2 separate regions of the Homo sapiens genome follow, and region 2 is linked to region 1. Evidence: promoter capture Hi-C in 16 types of primary human blood cells and fetal thymus (Javierre and others, 2016). All regions are on one chromosome and are shown on one strand. The core of a region is centred on a gene start or on the middle of the fragment in contact, and the rest is flanking DNA. Distances in the headings are between cores, read along the strand shown. Region 1 holds the start of SMC1B (structural maintenance of chromosomes 1B). Region 2 has its middle 20 kb from the start of UPK3A.

Region 1 (6,054 bases), core at 1,320-3,819:
TAAATCACTGATTAATTTCAAAAATACAAGCCTGGATGAAAGAAAAGCATACTGCAAATGGATCTATTCAATAGGATACCATTTACATAAATTTTAAAAACACATAAAAACAATTTTATATTGTTATGAATACATACATAAATAGTACAAGCATAAATAGTGCGTGGGGGCTGGGCCTGGTGGCTCATGCCTGTAATCCCAACACTTTGGGAGGCAGAGGCGGGAAGATCACCTGAGGTCAGGAGTTCGAGACCAGCCTGGCCAACATGGTGAAACCTCGTCTCTACTAAAAATACAAAAATCAGCCCAGCATGGTGGTGTGCACCTGTAATCCCAGCTACTCGGGAAGCTGAGACAGGAGAATTGCTTGAACCCAGGAGGCGGAGGTTGCGGTGAGCTGAGATCGCGCCACAGCTCTCCAGCCTGGAAGACAGAGCAAGACTCCATCTCAAAAGAAAATAGAAAAAAAAGCATGGGAATGATAAACACTTCTGAGGAGAAAGGAGGGGAAAATTAAGAGGTAGGGGGCAGGGCAGTGTTGTTATATATATATATATATATATACACATATATAAAAAACACAATTCTCAAAAAACACTGAAGATATCTGAAGCCAATCTGGCAAAATGTTAACATCTAGTCTGATGGTGGGTACATATGTACCTGTCACATTGTTTTTGTAAGATTGAATTACCTCATAACTAAAAATATTAATAAAAAAGATAAAATGTTTAGAACATACAGAACAGTATAAAGGAGAAAATAAAGTTTACTCATAATTCTATCCCTCCAACATTACCCTGCTAACATTTTGGCATATTTCCTCTCTTCTTCTTCTGAGCATATTTTAAAATATTTTAAAAACATAACAGCCCATTGTATGTACAATTTTGTATCCTGCTTTTTTTTCTATTATAAAAATCTTTATGGTGTTTAAAAACACTGAAATTTCTTTTTTTTTTTTTTTTCAATTTATTTTTTGTAGAGATGGGGTCTCGCTTTGTTGCCCAGGCAAGTCTGGAGCTCCTGGTCTCAAGTGATCCTCTAGTTTTAGCCTCTCAAAGTGTGAAATTTCAACAATTGTTGAAATTGTTGGACACGATAGGGGAAAATAAGTTGTATTTGAAGTGGAATAATAATACCTTGAATAACAGTATTCAAGGTACTTGAATACTATGATTTGAATCATGTCTGTCTCTGAGTCAGCTTGAGGGTGTGAGCCCGGACATATGTGTTGTCTGGTATAAACAGCTGTCCTTCATAGACGGTCTTAAACTTTTGAGCAGAGCAAGTGAGTGTGTGTGTGTGTCTTTCTGTGTTTAAGGCTTTTCCTATCCAGTTTTTTAAGAAAATGAAGGAAAACATACATATACCCTTAAAATCTATTTCTTATAATCCACATTCGAATTCAATAGCTGTTTTTAAGAGAAGAATCAGTGCATTAAGTTAACTGGGCACAAGAAATTGTGAAATTTAAAAGGAAGAAGAGTGTGAAAATGACAACTTTTTATATATGTGAAGAAAGGAGGGCTGGGTACCGTGGCTCATGCCTGTAGTTCCAGCACTTTGGGAGACTGACGTGGGAGGATCACTTGCACGCAGGAGTTCCAGACCAGCCTGGGCAACATAGTGAGACCCTATCTCTATTAAATAAAAAAAATAAAAAATAAAAAAAAAAAGGCGGGGCAGGGGGACGGTGGGGAAGACTGGAGTCTAAAGCCACACAATCCTAAACCAATAGATAAGCATTCAGGAAATGCTCACCAAAGGTTTCATGTCTAGCTTTTTCAGTAGCTTCTTTTATCTTCTGGTCATGAACTTGAACATCCCAGGCTTCAGTGTCTCCCTATAAATGGAAAAACAGAGGAGAAGGGTTAGAGCCAGATCATTTTATTCAGTAATAACAATCCTACTTATTATTATTTTTAATCTCTGCCCCACTGTAAACGAGTTGTAGAAAATCTGGCTCAGGGGAGGAGAACCGTTGGTGACTCCAGGCGAGCTCGAGAGGGAGCATTATTGGCCCTGCAGGAGGCCGTTTGCTGCCTCCTGGCTCAGATGTTTCATCCTAGAACTCATCTCCTTTCCCCCTCCACGCAGCCCCTCGCCCGCATCTGCCGCTCTAACCCCGTCCCGGCCCCTGCCCTTTCACCCCAATTATCCTGTTTCTGGCGTTGAAGACCCGCTTCTGCCTGCACAGCTCCGCGTGCCTCCTCTTTGCCAGGTTGGCGTCCTGCCGCAAGTCCCTGGGCAGCGCCACCGCCATGGTCTGGGAACCCATGGAAAGCCTAAGGGGTTTTTAGAACACGCAGGATCAGGAGAACAGGCGACGAAAATAAGGAAGCTGTAGCGCAGGCAAGGTCGGCTCCTTCGGTCGGGCAGGGGAAAGACAAGCCTTTAGCGCAGTTTTCCGTCGGGCTCCCAGTGACGCCGCAGAGGTACAGACGCTCCCGCTCTCTCGGAAATGTCAACAACTCGTTGCTAAGGAACGGCTCCGCGCTTGCCGCGTCTCGCTCTCTTCTCGCGACACTTGGCGAATCCCTTCCCGCGCTTTTTCCGCGGGCGCTTGATAACGCGGGTGAGGCGTGGAGGGCGGCGCCATGGCCCACCTGGAGCTGCTGCTTGTGGAAAATTTCAAGTCGTGGCGGGGCCGCCAGGTCATTGGCCCCTTCCGGAGGTTCACCTGCATCATCGGCCCCAACGGCTCTGGTAACTGAGCAGCTCAGGGCGCCACCGGAGCGCCTCCGCCGTCCCAGGCGTCCAGGCCACACGTGGCCTGTGGGGTGTGGGCGTCTGCCGCGGGCGCCTGGCCGGCCTTCCCCTTCCAGTCCCGGAGCCTGACCGCGACCGGATCCCGGCCTGGCCCTGGCCCAGCCCCTGCCCATCACCCCACCTCAGCCCCGGTCCTCGCCGTCCACCTCAGGGGTCCCGACCCTTGTCCCTCCGCCCCACCTCGGAGGTCCTGACCCTTCCACTCGGCCCCGCCTCGGGCCCCGCTCTCGCCCTCCACCTCCTGGCTCCCGACCCTCCTCCGACACCCTGAGGGACCCCACCCCACCTCAGCTCCGGCCCTCGCCCTTCATCTCAGGGGCTCCCAACCCTCGCCCCCCACCCTGGGGGTCCTGACGCTTCCTCTCCGCCCCGGTCCCGCCCTGGGCCCTGTTCTCTGCCCTCACTCCTGCTTCGGGGACTGCTCTTGCCCTTGGCCCTGGTCACTCGCGTCCCTTTTCCCTTCTCATCCGAAGTTGAAGTGAGAGGGAGCTGTCGAGGAGGTAATGGGTTCCAAGCAGCCAGAACCACCATTTGGATCCAAGGGAGCTTTGACCCAGGAATGTAGTGATGATGACCCAGTTTACTGAGCTTTTCCTAAGTTCCTGGCGACACCGTCTTTGGTTAGCCATGGCGCATGGCTGCTCTCCCCATTTTATAGTTGGGGAAACTGAGGTCTGGAGAGGCCAGAGGACCTGCGGAGGTCTCTACTAATAATACCAAAATTAGCTGGGTGTGGTGGCACACGCCTGTAATCCCAACTACTCTGGAGGCTGAGGCGGGAGAATCGCTTGAACCTGGGAGGTGGAAGTTGCAGTGAGCCAAGGACACGCCATTGCACTCCAGCCTGGCAACACAGTGCGACTCTCGTCTCAAAAAAAAAAAAAAAAAAAAAAAAAAGGCTGGGCGCGGTGGCTCACACCTGTAATTCCAGCACTTTAGGAGGCCGAGGCGGGTGGATCATGAGATCAGGAGTTCGAGACCAGCCTGACCAACATGGTGAAGCCCTGTCTCTACTAAAAATACAAAAATTAATCGGGTGTGGTGACATGCACCTGTAATCCCGGCTACTGAGGAGGCTGAGGCAGGAGAATCGCTTGAACCCGGGAGGCAGAGGTTGCAGTGAGCCAAGATAGCACCACCGCACTCCAGCCTGGGTAACAAGAGCGAGACTTCGACTCTAAAATAAAATAAAATAAGATAAATATAAAATAAAATTGGCCGGGCGCCGTGGCTCATGCCTATAATCCCAGCACTTTGGGAGGCCGAGGCGGGCGGATCACCTTAGGTCAGGAGTTAGAAACCAGCCTGGCCAACATAGTGAAACCCCTGTCTGTACTAAAAATACAAAAATTAGCTGGGGGTGGTGTCACGTGCCTGTAATACCAGCTACTTGGGAGACTGAGGCAGGAGAATCACTTGAACCCGGGAGGCGGAGGTTGCAGTGAGCCAAGACTGTGCCACTGCATTCCAGCCTGGGCGACAGAGCAAGACTCTGTCTCAACAAAAAAATAAGGCCTGACATGGTGGCCCACACCTGTAATTCCATCACTTTGGGAGGCTGAGGCAGGCAGATCACTGGAGGTAGGGGTTCAAGACCAGCCTGGCCAACATGATGAAACCCCATCTGTACTAAAAATACAAAAAAGCCTGGCGTGGTGGCGCACGCCTGTAGTCCCAGCTACTCAGGGGACTGAGGCAGGAGAATCGCTTGAACCTGGGAGGCAGAGGCTGCAGTGAGCTGACATCACGCCACTGCACTCCAGCCTGGGCAACAACAGAACAAGACTGCATCTCAAAAATAAATAAGTAAAAATAAATAAATAAATAAAATGCACCGTTCAGTGGTTTTTAGTATATTCAAAAGTTGTGCAACCATCATCACCATCTACTTCCAAAACATTTTCATTGCCCCCAAAGAAACCTTGTACTCATTAGCAATCACTCCCTGTTATTTCCTCTCCACCTAGCTCCTGGTATCTACTAATTCACTTTCTGTCTCTATGGATTTACCTATTTGGGACATTTCGTATAAATAGAATCAGACAATATATGGCCTTTTGTGTCTGACTTCTTTCACTTAGCATAATGTTTTTCAGATTCATCTATGTTGCTCCTTGTATTAGTACTTATTTCCTTCTTATTTTCAAATAATATTTCACTGTATAGATATACTACATTTTGTTTATCCATCAGTTGATAGTTTGGGTTGTTGCCACTTTGTGGTATGTTATGCTGCCTTGACTCTCTTGACAGACTATAACCTTTATTAGGCAGGGACAATATTAATGAAATTTAATGGAATAAATGGATTTGGATGAGAAGTATTTATTTTAGGCAGATTTAAATAAGGATTGACTTATTGATTTTAAAAGTTTATGTTTAGTTTTGTTACTTAATACTTAAATTACTTAATAATTTAATTCAGTGAATGTTTATCTTGTCCATATGCACTGTCTTACAATAGCCCTCAATGTGCAGATTATCCATTAACCCAAAAAAGCCGTTTCATACCTGTTAGTTGACTGAGACTCAGCTAAATAAATTTGCAGCAATTTATTTCTAGTTCTTTTTAGAAAGACCCTAAACCTCTAAAACTAAGCCATATTTCCGGTGGCTGATAGTATTCCTTTGCTTTGTTTATGTTACTTTCCTAGTTTTGGCATTGAAAATTAATTAATTATTTCTTTTGTCTTGAGATGGAGTCTTGCTCTCTTGCCCAGGCTGGAGTACAGTGGTGTAATATCAGCTCACTGCAACCTCTGCCTTCTGGATCCAAGTGATTCTTCTGCCTCAGCCTCCCGAGTAGCTGGGATTACAGGCGCACGCCACCACAGCTGGCTAATTTTTTGTATTTTAGTAGAGACGGGGTTTCACCATGTTGGTCAGGCTGGTCTCGAACCCCTGACCTCGGGTGATCTTCCTGCCTCGGCCTCCCAAAGTGCTGGGATTACAGGTGTGAGCTGCTGCGCCCAGCCTGAAAATTTAAACTGCTTTGTGGATATAGGGGAAGGGATGTGAAAAGGAGAAATAATAGTGATGGTGACAGCTGCATTGACATTGCACCTTGGAAATTGTCTTAGAGAAAATTATGGGCCAATGATTGGGTAACAGATTTAACATTGGGGTTAGGAATGCCCACAACTACCCTTAGGTTCAGTAATTTGTTGGGAAAACTCACAGGATTCTACATATAGTTTGACTCAATACTATTATTTATTACAGTGAAAAAATACAAAGCGAACTCAGCAAAGGGAAAGGATATATGAGGCAAAGTCTTAGGAA
Region 2 (6,054 bases), core at 558-3,057, 150 kb after region 1:
AGCTCCCACAGATCCTCTTGCCCCAGGTCCTTCCTCTGTGTGCGGCAGAGGGAAGGACCATGCGTGGACATGGGCGGGAGGATCATTTGAGCCCAGGAGTTCAAGACCAGCCTGGGCAACATAGTGAGACCTCATCTCCACAAAAATAAAAGATTAGCTGGGTGTGGTGGCGCGTGCCTGTAATCCCAGCTACTCGGGAGGCTGAGGCAGGAAGATTGCTTGAGCCCAGGAGTTCAAGGCTACAGTGAGCTATGATAGTGCCCCTGAACTCCAGCCTGGGTGGCAAAGCAAGACCCTGTCTCAAAATAAAATAATAAAATAAAATAAATCACACATATTTGAAGTATACAATTTGATGAGTTTTGAATATAGATGTATATTCTGTGACTCCATCACCACAGTAAGATAATGACCATTTCCGTCACTCCCAAAAGTGTGCCCCTGGCGGGGCCCGGTGGCTCACGCCTGTAATCCCAGCACTTTGGGAGGCTGAGGCAGATGGATCACCTGAGGTCAGGAGTTTGAAACCGGCCTGACCAAACATGGCGAAAACCCGTCTCTACTAAAAATACAAAAATTAGCTGGTGTGGTGGCAGGTGCCTGTAATCCCAGCTACTTCGGAGACTGAGGCAGGAAAATCGCTTGAACGCCGGACGCAGAGGTTGCAGTGAGCCGAGATCGCACCACTGCACTCCAGCCTGTGTGACAGAGTGAGACTCCGTCTCAAAAAAAAAAAAAAAGAAAAGAAAAGAAAAAGAAAAAGTATGTCCTTGTCCCTTTGTAATCCATTCCCTCTTCATCCCCCCTCCCCTCTCCTCCACCCCACCCCCATCCCACCCCCAAGCAACCACTGGTCTGCTTCTGTCACTATAGATGAGACTGAGATTTTCAGAATTTCATGTAAGTGGAATCATAACATGTGTTCTTTTTTGGTCTGGCTTCTTTCACTCAGCATAACTATTTTGGGGTTCATCCATTTTCTTAGATGCCATTAATAGTTCATTCCTTTTTATTGCCGAGTAGTATCCAATTGTAGGATATGCAACTGGATATGCAGTTAGCTGATCCGTTCACCTGTTAATGGGCGCTTTTAAAATTTTAGCTCTAAAGCTGCTATGAACCTTCCTGTTCAAGTCTCCATGTGGACATGTGCTCTCATTTCAGTTGGATAAATACCTAAGAGTACAATGGCTGGGCCATGTGGCAGGCATGTGTTCAACTTTTTAAGAAACTGTCAAATTGTCTTTCAGTGGATATCCATTTACATTCCCACCAGCAGTGCGTGAGAATTCCAGTTCCTCCACATCCTCACCAACACTTAGTGTGTTCAGTCTTCTTCATTTTGGCCATTCTGGTATATGTATAGTGGTGTCTCACTGTAACATCTCATTCCCTAGGGAATCTTTTTTTTTTTTTTTTTTTTTTTTTTGAGACAGAGTTTTGTTCTTGTTGCCCTGGCTGGAGTGCAATGGCGCAATCTTGGCTCATTGCAACCTCCGCCTCCTAGGTTCAAGTGATTCTCCTGCCTCAGCCTCCCGAGTAGCTGGGATTATAGGCATGCAGCATTACACCAGGCTAATTTCTGTATTATTATTATTATTATTTTGAGATGGAGTCTCACTCTGTTACCCAGGTTAGAGCGCAGTGGCGTGATCTCAGCTCACTGCAACCTCTGCCTTATGAGTTCAAGTGATTCTCCTGCCTCAGCCTCCCAAGTAGCTGGGATTACAGGCACCTGCCACTGCGCACAGCTAATTTTTGTATTTTTAGTAGAGACAGGGTTTCACCATCTTGGCCAGGCTGGTCTCGAACTCCTGACCTCGTGATCCACCTGCCTCGGCCTTCCAAAGTTCTGGGATTACAGGCGTGAACCACTTCGCCCAGCCAATTTTTGTATTTTTAGTAGAGACAGGGTTTCACCATGTTGGATGGGCTGGTCTCAAACTCCTGACCTTGTGATCCTCCCGCATCGGCCTCCCAAAGTGCTGGGCTTACAGGTGTGAGCCACTGTGCCCGCCCAGAACTCATGGTTTTGAACTTCTTTTCATTTTCGTCATCTGTATATCTTATTTGGTGAAAAGTTTATTCAAATTTTTTGCCCATTAAAAATAAAAAAAGAATGGGTTGTTATTGTTTACTATAAGAGTTTTTTTAATATTCTAGATCATGTATTTTCTTCTTCTTCTTCTTTTTTTTTTTGACAAGGTCTCATTCTGTTGCCCGGGCTGGAGTGCAGTGGCTCATTGCAGCCTCGACCTCCAGGGCTCGGGTGAACTTCCCACCACAGCCTTCTGGGTAGCTGGGACCACAGGCATGCACCACCACACCCGGCTAGTTTTTTTACTTTTTTGTAGATAACAGAGTTTCACCATATTGTCCAGATTGGTCTCAAACTCCTGAGCTCAAGTGATTTGCCTGCCTCTGCCTCTGAAAGCGCTGGGATTACAACAGGCGTGTACCACTGTGTCTGGCCTGATCATGCATTTTCAATGAAGGCAAAATTGCCCCCAATGGGAAAAAATTGGTTCTCGTGAAATGAAAAAATTGTGCTCTTTATGTACAAAGCACAATAAACGCACAATACATAAACGGGTACCTGTGTATTAAATTTCCATGGGGGTGATTAGGAAGGATTGTCTAAAAATATTCCTTGGATGAGGAAGGGAATGGAAAAAAGCTGAGAAAGTGTTCGAGATACAAGTCCTTTGTTGGATGTATGCTTTGCAAAAACCAAAAAATTTTAATTTGGATAAAGTCCAATTTATCAATTATCCCTTTTATAATTTGTGCTTTTTGTGTGCTATTTCAGAAGCCTCTGTCTAACTCAAGGTTACTAAGATTTTCTGCTGTTTTCCTGTAAAAGTTTCACAGTTTTAACTCTTCCATTTAGGTCTGTGGTCCATTTTATAGACTCCCCCAAATTTATTTATTTATTTATTTATTTTGAGATGGAGTCTCGCTCTGTCACCCAGTCTGGAGTGTAGTGGTGTGATCTTGGCTCACTGCAAGCTCTACCTCCTGGGTTCAAGCCATTCTCCTGCCTCAGCCTCCTGAGTAGCTGGGATTACAGGTGAGTGCCACCACACCCGGCTAATTTTTGTATGTTTAGTAGAGATGGGGTTTCACCATGTTGGTTAGGCTAGTCTCAAACTCCTGACCTTGTGATCCACCCACCTCAGCCTCCCAAAGTGTTGGGATTACAGGTGTGAGCCACTGCACCCAGCCCCAAATTAATTTTAGTATGTAGTATGAAGTAAGTGTGGAAGTTCATTTTTTTATATATATATGGACGTCCAGTTGATCCAACACTTTTTGTGGAAACACTTTCCTTTCCCCACCGAGTTGCTTCATCACTTTGGTCAAAAATCAGTTAATTTGGTCAGGCACTGTGGCTCACGCCTGTAATCCCAGCACTTTGGGAGGCCAAGGCAGGTGGATCACTTGAGGTCAGGAGTTCAAGACCAGCTTGGCCAACATGGTGAAACCCTGTCTCTACTAAAATTACAAAAATGAGCCAGGTATGGTGTGTGCCTGTAGTCCCAGCTACTCGGGAGGCTGAGGCAGGGGAATCACTTGAACCCAAGAGGTTGCAGTGAGCCGAGATTGCACCATTGGACTCCAGCCTCGGCAAGAGAGCAAGAGACTCTCTCAAAAACAAACAAACAAACAAATTCAGTTAACTACATATGTGTGGGTCCGTTTTGTAATATACTGTGTGAACCAAAGAAAAACCCATTCATGGGCTGCCTGGTCTGGGCCCCGACTATTTTCTAACATTGACCTCCAGCACTCAGACCTCCTTGCTGGCCCCTGGCTAGGCACCTGCTGCCTCAGGCCTCAGCTCCAGCTCTGTCCTGGTCTAGAACTGTCTGCCCTGAGATCATCTCCTGTCAATGCCTCCTCCTCTGAGAGGGAGGCCCCTGCCATGGTGTTGCTCTGGTGATTTGGTTCCAGGAGAGCTTGATGAGATCAGCAGGCGCCGGATTGTACAGGGACTTGCAGGCGGAGACAAGAATTGAGGTTTTATTCTGTGTGAGATGAGAACAGGAATGGCATGATCTGACTTTGGCTTTGGAAACGTGGCCTGGGCTGCTGTGTCGAGGTGGACTGTAGGGGGAGTGCGGAGGCAGGGGTGGCCGCAGGAGGCTCCGGAAGCACGTGGCTCCTGCCGGCCACTCGCTCTGCCTGTAGTCTGTCATCAGAGCAATCCTTGGCCCTGAGAGCAGATGCTGCAATGAGAAGGAAGGTCAGCCCTGGCCAGCCTTGCTCTGGGATCCCAGGGCATGGGATTCAGGAAAAATAGGGGCTTCCCTCCTCCATGTTCACCATGCCACCCCGCCCTCGGTTCCCACACCCTCGTGGGGTGGCTCCAGGCTACTGTCCTGGCCCTTGACCTATTCACTGCCCTCAAGGCTTGGGCTGCATTTGTGGAGCAGAAGAAGGAGCCGGGGTGGAAGCCCTGAGGTTAAGTTCCAGTTCCTCTTCTTACCAGCTGGGTGACCTCCAGCGAGTCACTGGAGCCTGCAGAATCTCATTTGAGAAGTTGGATAAGATCTCTGCCCCCACCGCCCAGGCCCCAGGGGAGCTGTGCAGACTGACTCTCTTCTGAAGAGTCCCTTGGAAATGTTTTGGCGGTGGCAAGAGAAAGAGCTTTGCTTGTTCTTCAGAAAGACTTGCCGGAGTCAGACACTGAGGACTCCAGAGCATCTGGAGGAAGCCCAAGGGCCACCTCCCCTGAGAAGCCTTCCTTCGCCAGCCTGAATAAAATGGACCTCTATACACACACCTGTCTCAGTGGTGGCAGTGGCAGGCCATCTGGAGCGGCTGCTGCTGTCACACCAGCTGCAGCAGGGAGGCACGGCTGGGGCTGCATGTTCCATGGAACTGGCAGGAGCTGGGGACAGGCAGGAGCCTCTCCCATTCTGAGTCGGGGTGGCAGCTCCCTGCATGCCGCTGCAGCTGCCCAAGCCACGGCTGTGGACCCAGGCATCCCTGTGCTCTCGGAGCCTGGGAGCAGGTGGGAACCCCACCCTCCCAGGTGCAGCTGCAGCCGCCCAAACCACAGCTGCAGACCGGGGCCTCCCGCTCCACGGAGCAGGCTGGAGTCCTGCCCCACATCCCACATAGCTGCACCGGCCCTAACTGCCACTGCGGACCCAGGCATCTCTGCACTCTTGGGGGCCCTGGAAGGCCCCCCTGCCCTCACAGGCTTGGAAATGCCTGCTCCCACTGCCTGGCTTCTCCTTGCTGTCGGCACCTGCTCTGATCTTGGGGCAAAATTGGGGCCGAGCCTGGGTTTTGTCACAGCCCAGCCAGGTGTGCACACACTCAGGGCAGTGCTGACATGCCAGCCCCCTGCCGTCTCAGCCCTCTCCAGATTTTGGGCACTGATGAGCATAGGAATGAAGCTGAGGAGGAACTGAGGGCAGCTTGGCAGTGGCCTGCAGACGCCCCTTGGTACCTATAGCCTGGGCGCCATGAATGGCAGCAGGAGGCAGACAGGTTTCTGGGCAGAAGGGGGTGAGTCCCTGGTGAGGCCCACCTTCAGGCCAGGGAGGCCCTGAAGGCTGGGGGCCAGGCTGTCAGTGCCGTGGACTGGAGTGCGAACTTGTGTTGCCTTTTCTGGGCCTGCCCATGGCCGCCCATGGACCAGTCAGCATGAACTTCCCCCTCTCTGAGGCTGACAGAAGCCCCAGGCTCAGCCAGAGCTGAGCAGACGTCGGATGACCAGCTGTAGTGAGGAACTGCCCTCTCCAGGGCCTCCTCTGAGCTATTGTCACTCAATAAAGCTCCTCTTCGTCTTGCTCACCCTCTTGTTTCCGTACCTCATTCTTCCTGAGTGGAGGACAAGAACTTGGGACCCACTGAATAAGGCTAAAAGAGCTATAACACAAACAGTGCTGAGACATGCCCCTTGCTGGCCACGTTGCAGGGGAAGAGAAGGAAGGAAGAGCTGCAGCCCTTTGGGGAGCCCAGACCGGGGAGTCTCCCAAGCCAGGGCTGTGATGCCCTCTTTGGGTCCCTGTGGTTTCTGGCATCTCCAAGCTTCTGAGA

What was found. Contacts are between HindIII fragments. The CHiCAGO score rates a contact against its expected background, and 5 or more counts as called.
Region 2: a fragment that was not itself captured here is called in contact with the fragment with the promoter of SMC1B in region 1 in 4 of 17 cell types (naive CD4 T cells, naive CD8 T cells, monocytes and 1 more); the score reaches 5.5 in naive CD4 T cells.

Annotation. Positions count from the first base shown.
Region 1 is chr22:45,410,114-45,416,167 of GRCh38, reverse strand. SMC1B (structural maintenance of chromosomes 1B) reads left to right here and starts at 2,569. Exons shown (of 25, transcript NM_148674.5): 1 at 2,569-2,709. The coding sequence starts at 2,601. RIBC2 (RIB43A domain with coiled-coils 2) reads right to left here and starts at 2,475. Exons shown (of 7, transcript NM_015653.5): 1 at 2,153-2,475; 2 at 1,765-1,846. The coding sequence starts at 2,281. RefSeq lists an enhancer at 1,653-2,486. The HindIII fragment of the contact is 11,352 bases long and covers 1-6,054 here.
Region 2 is chr22:45,262,026-45,268,079 of GRCh38, reverse strand. No RefSeq gene overlaps it. Among named protein-coding and RNA genes, the nearest start is that of UPK3A, 20 kb to the left of the region's middle. RefSeq lists enhancers at 4,221-4,410, 3,835-4,670, 4,681-4,730. The HindIII fragment of the contact is 8,481 bases long and covers 1-6,047 here.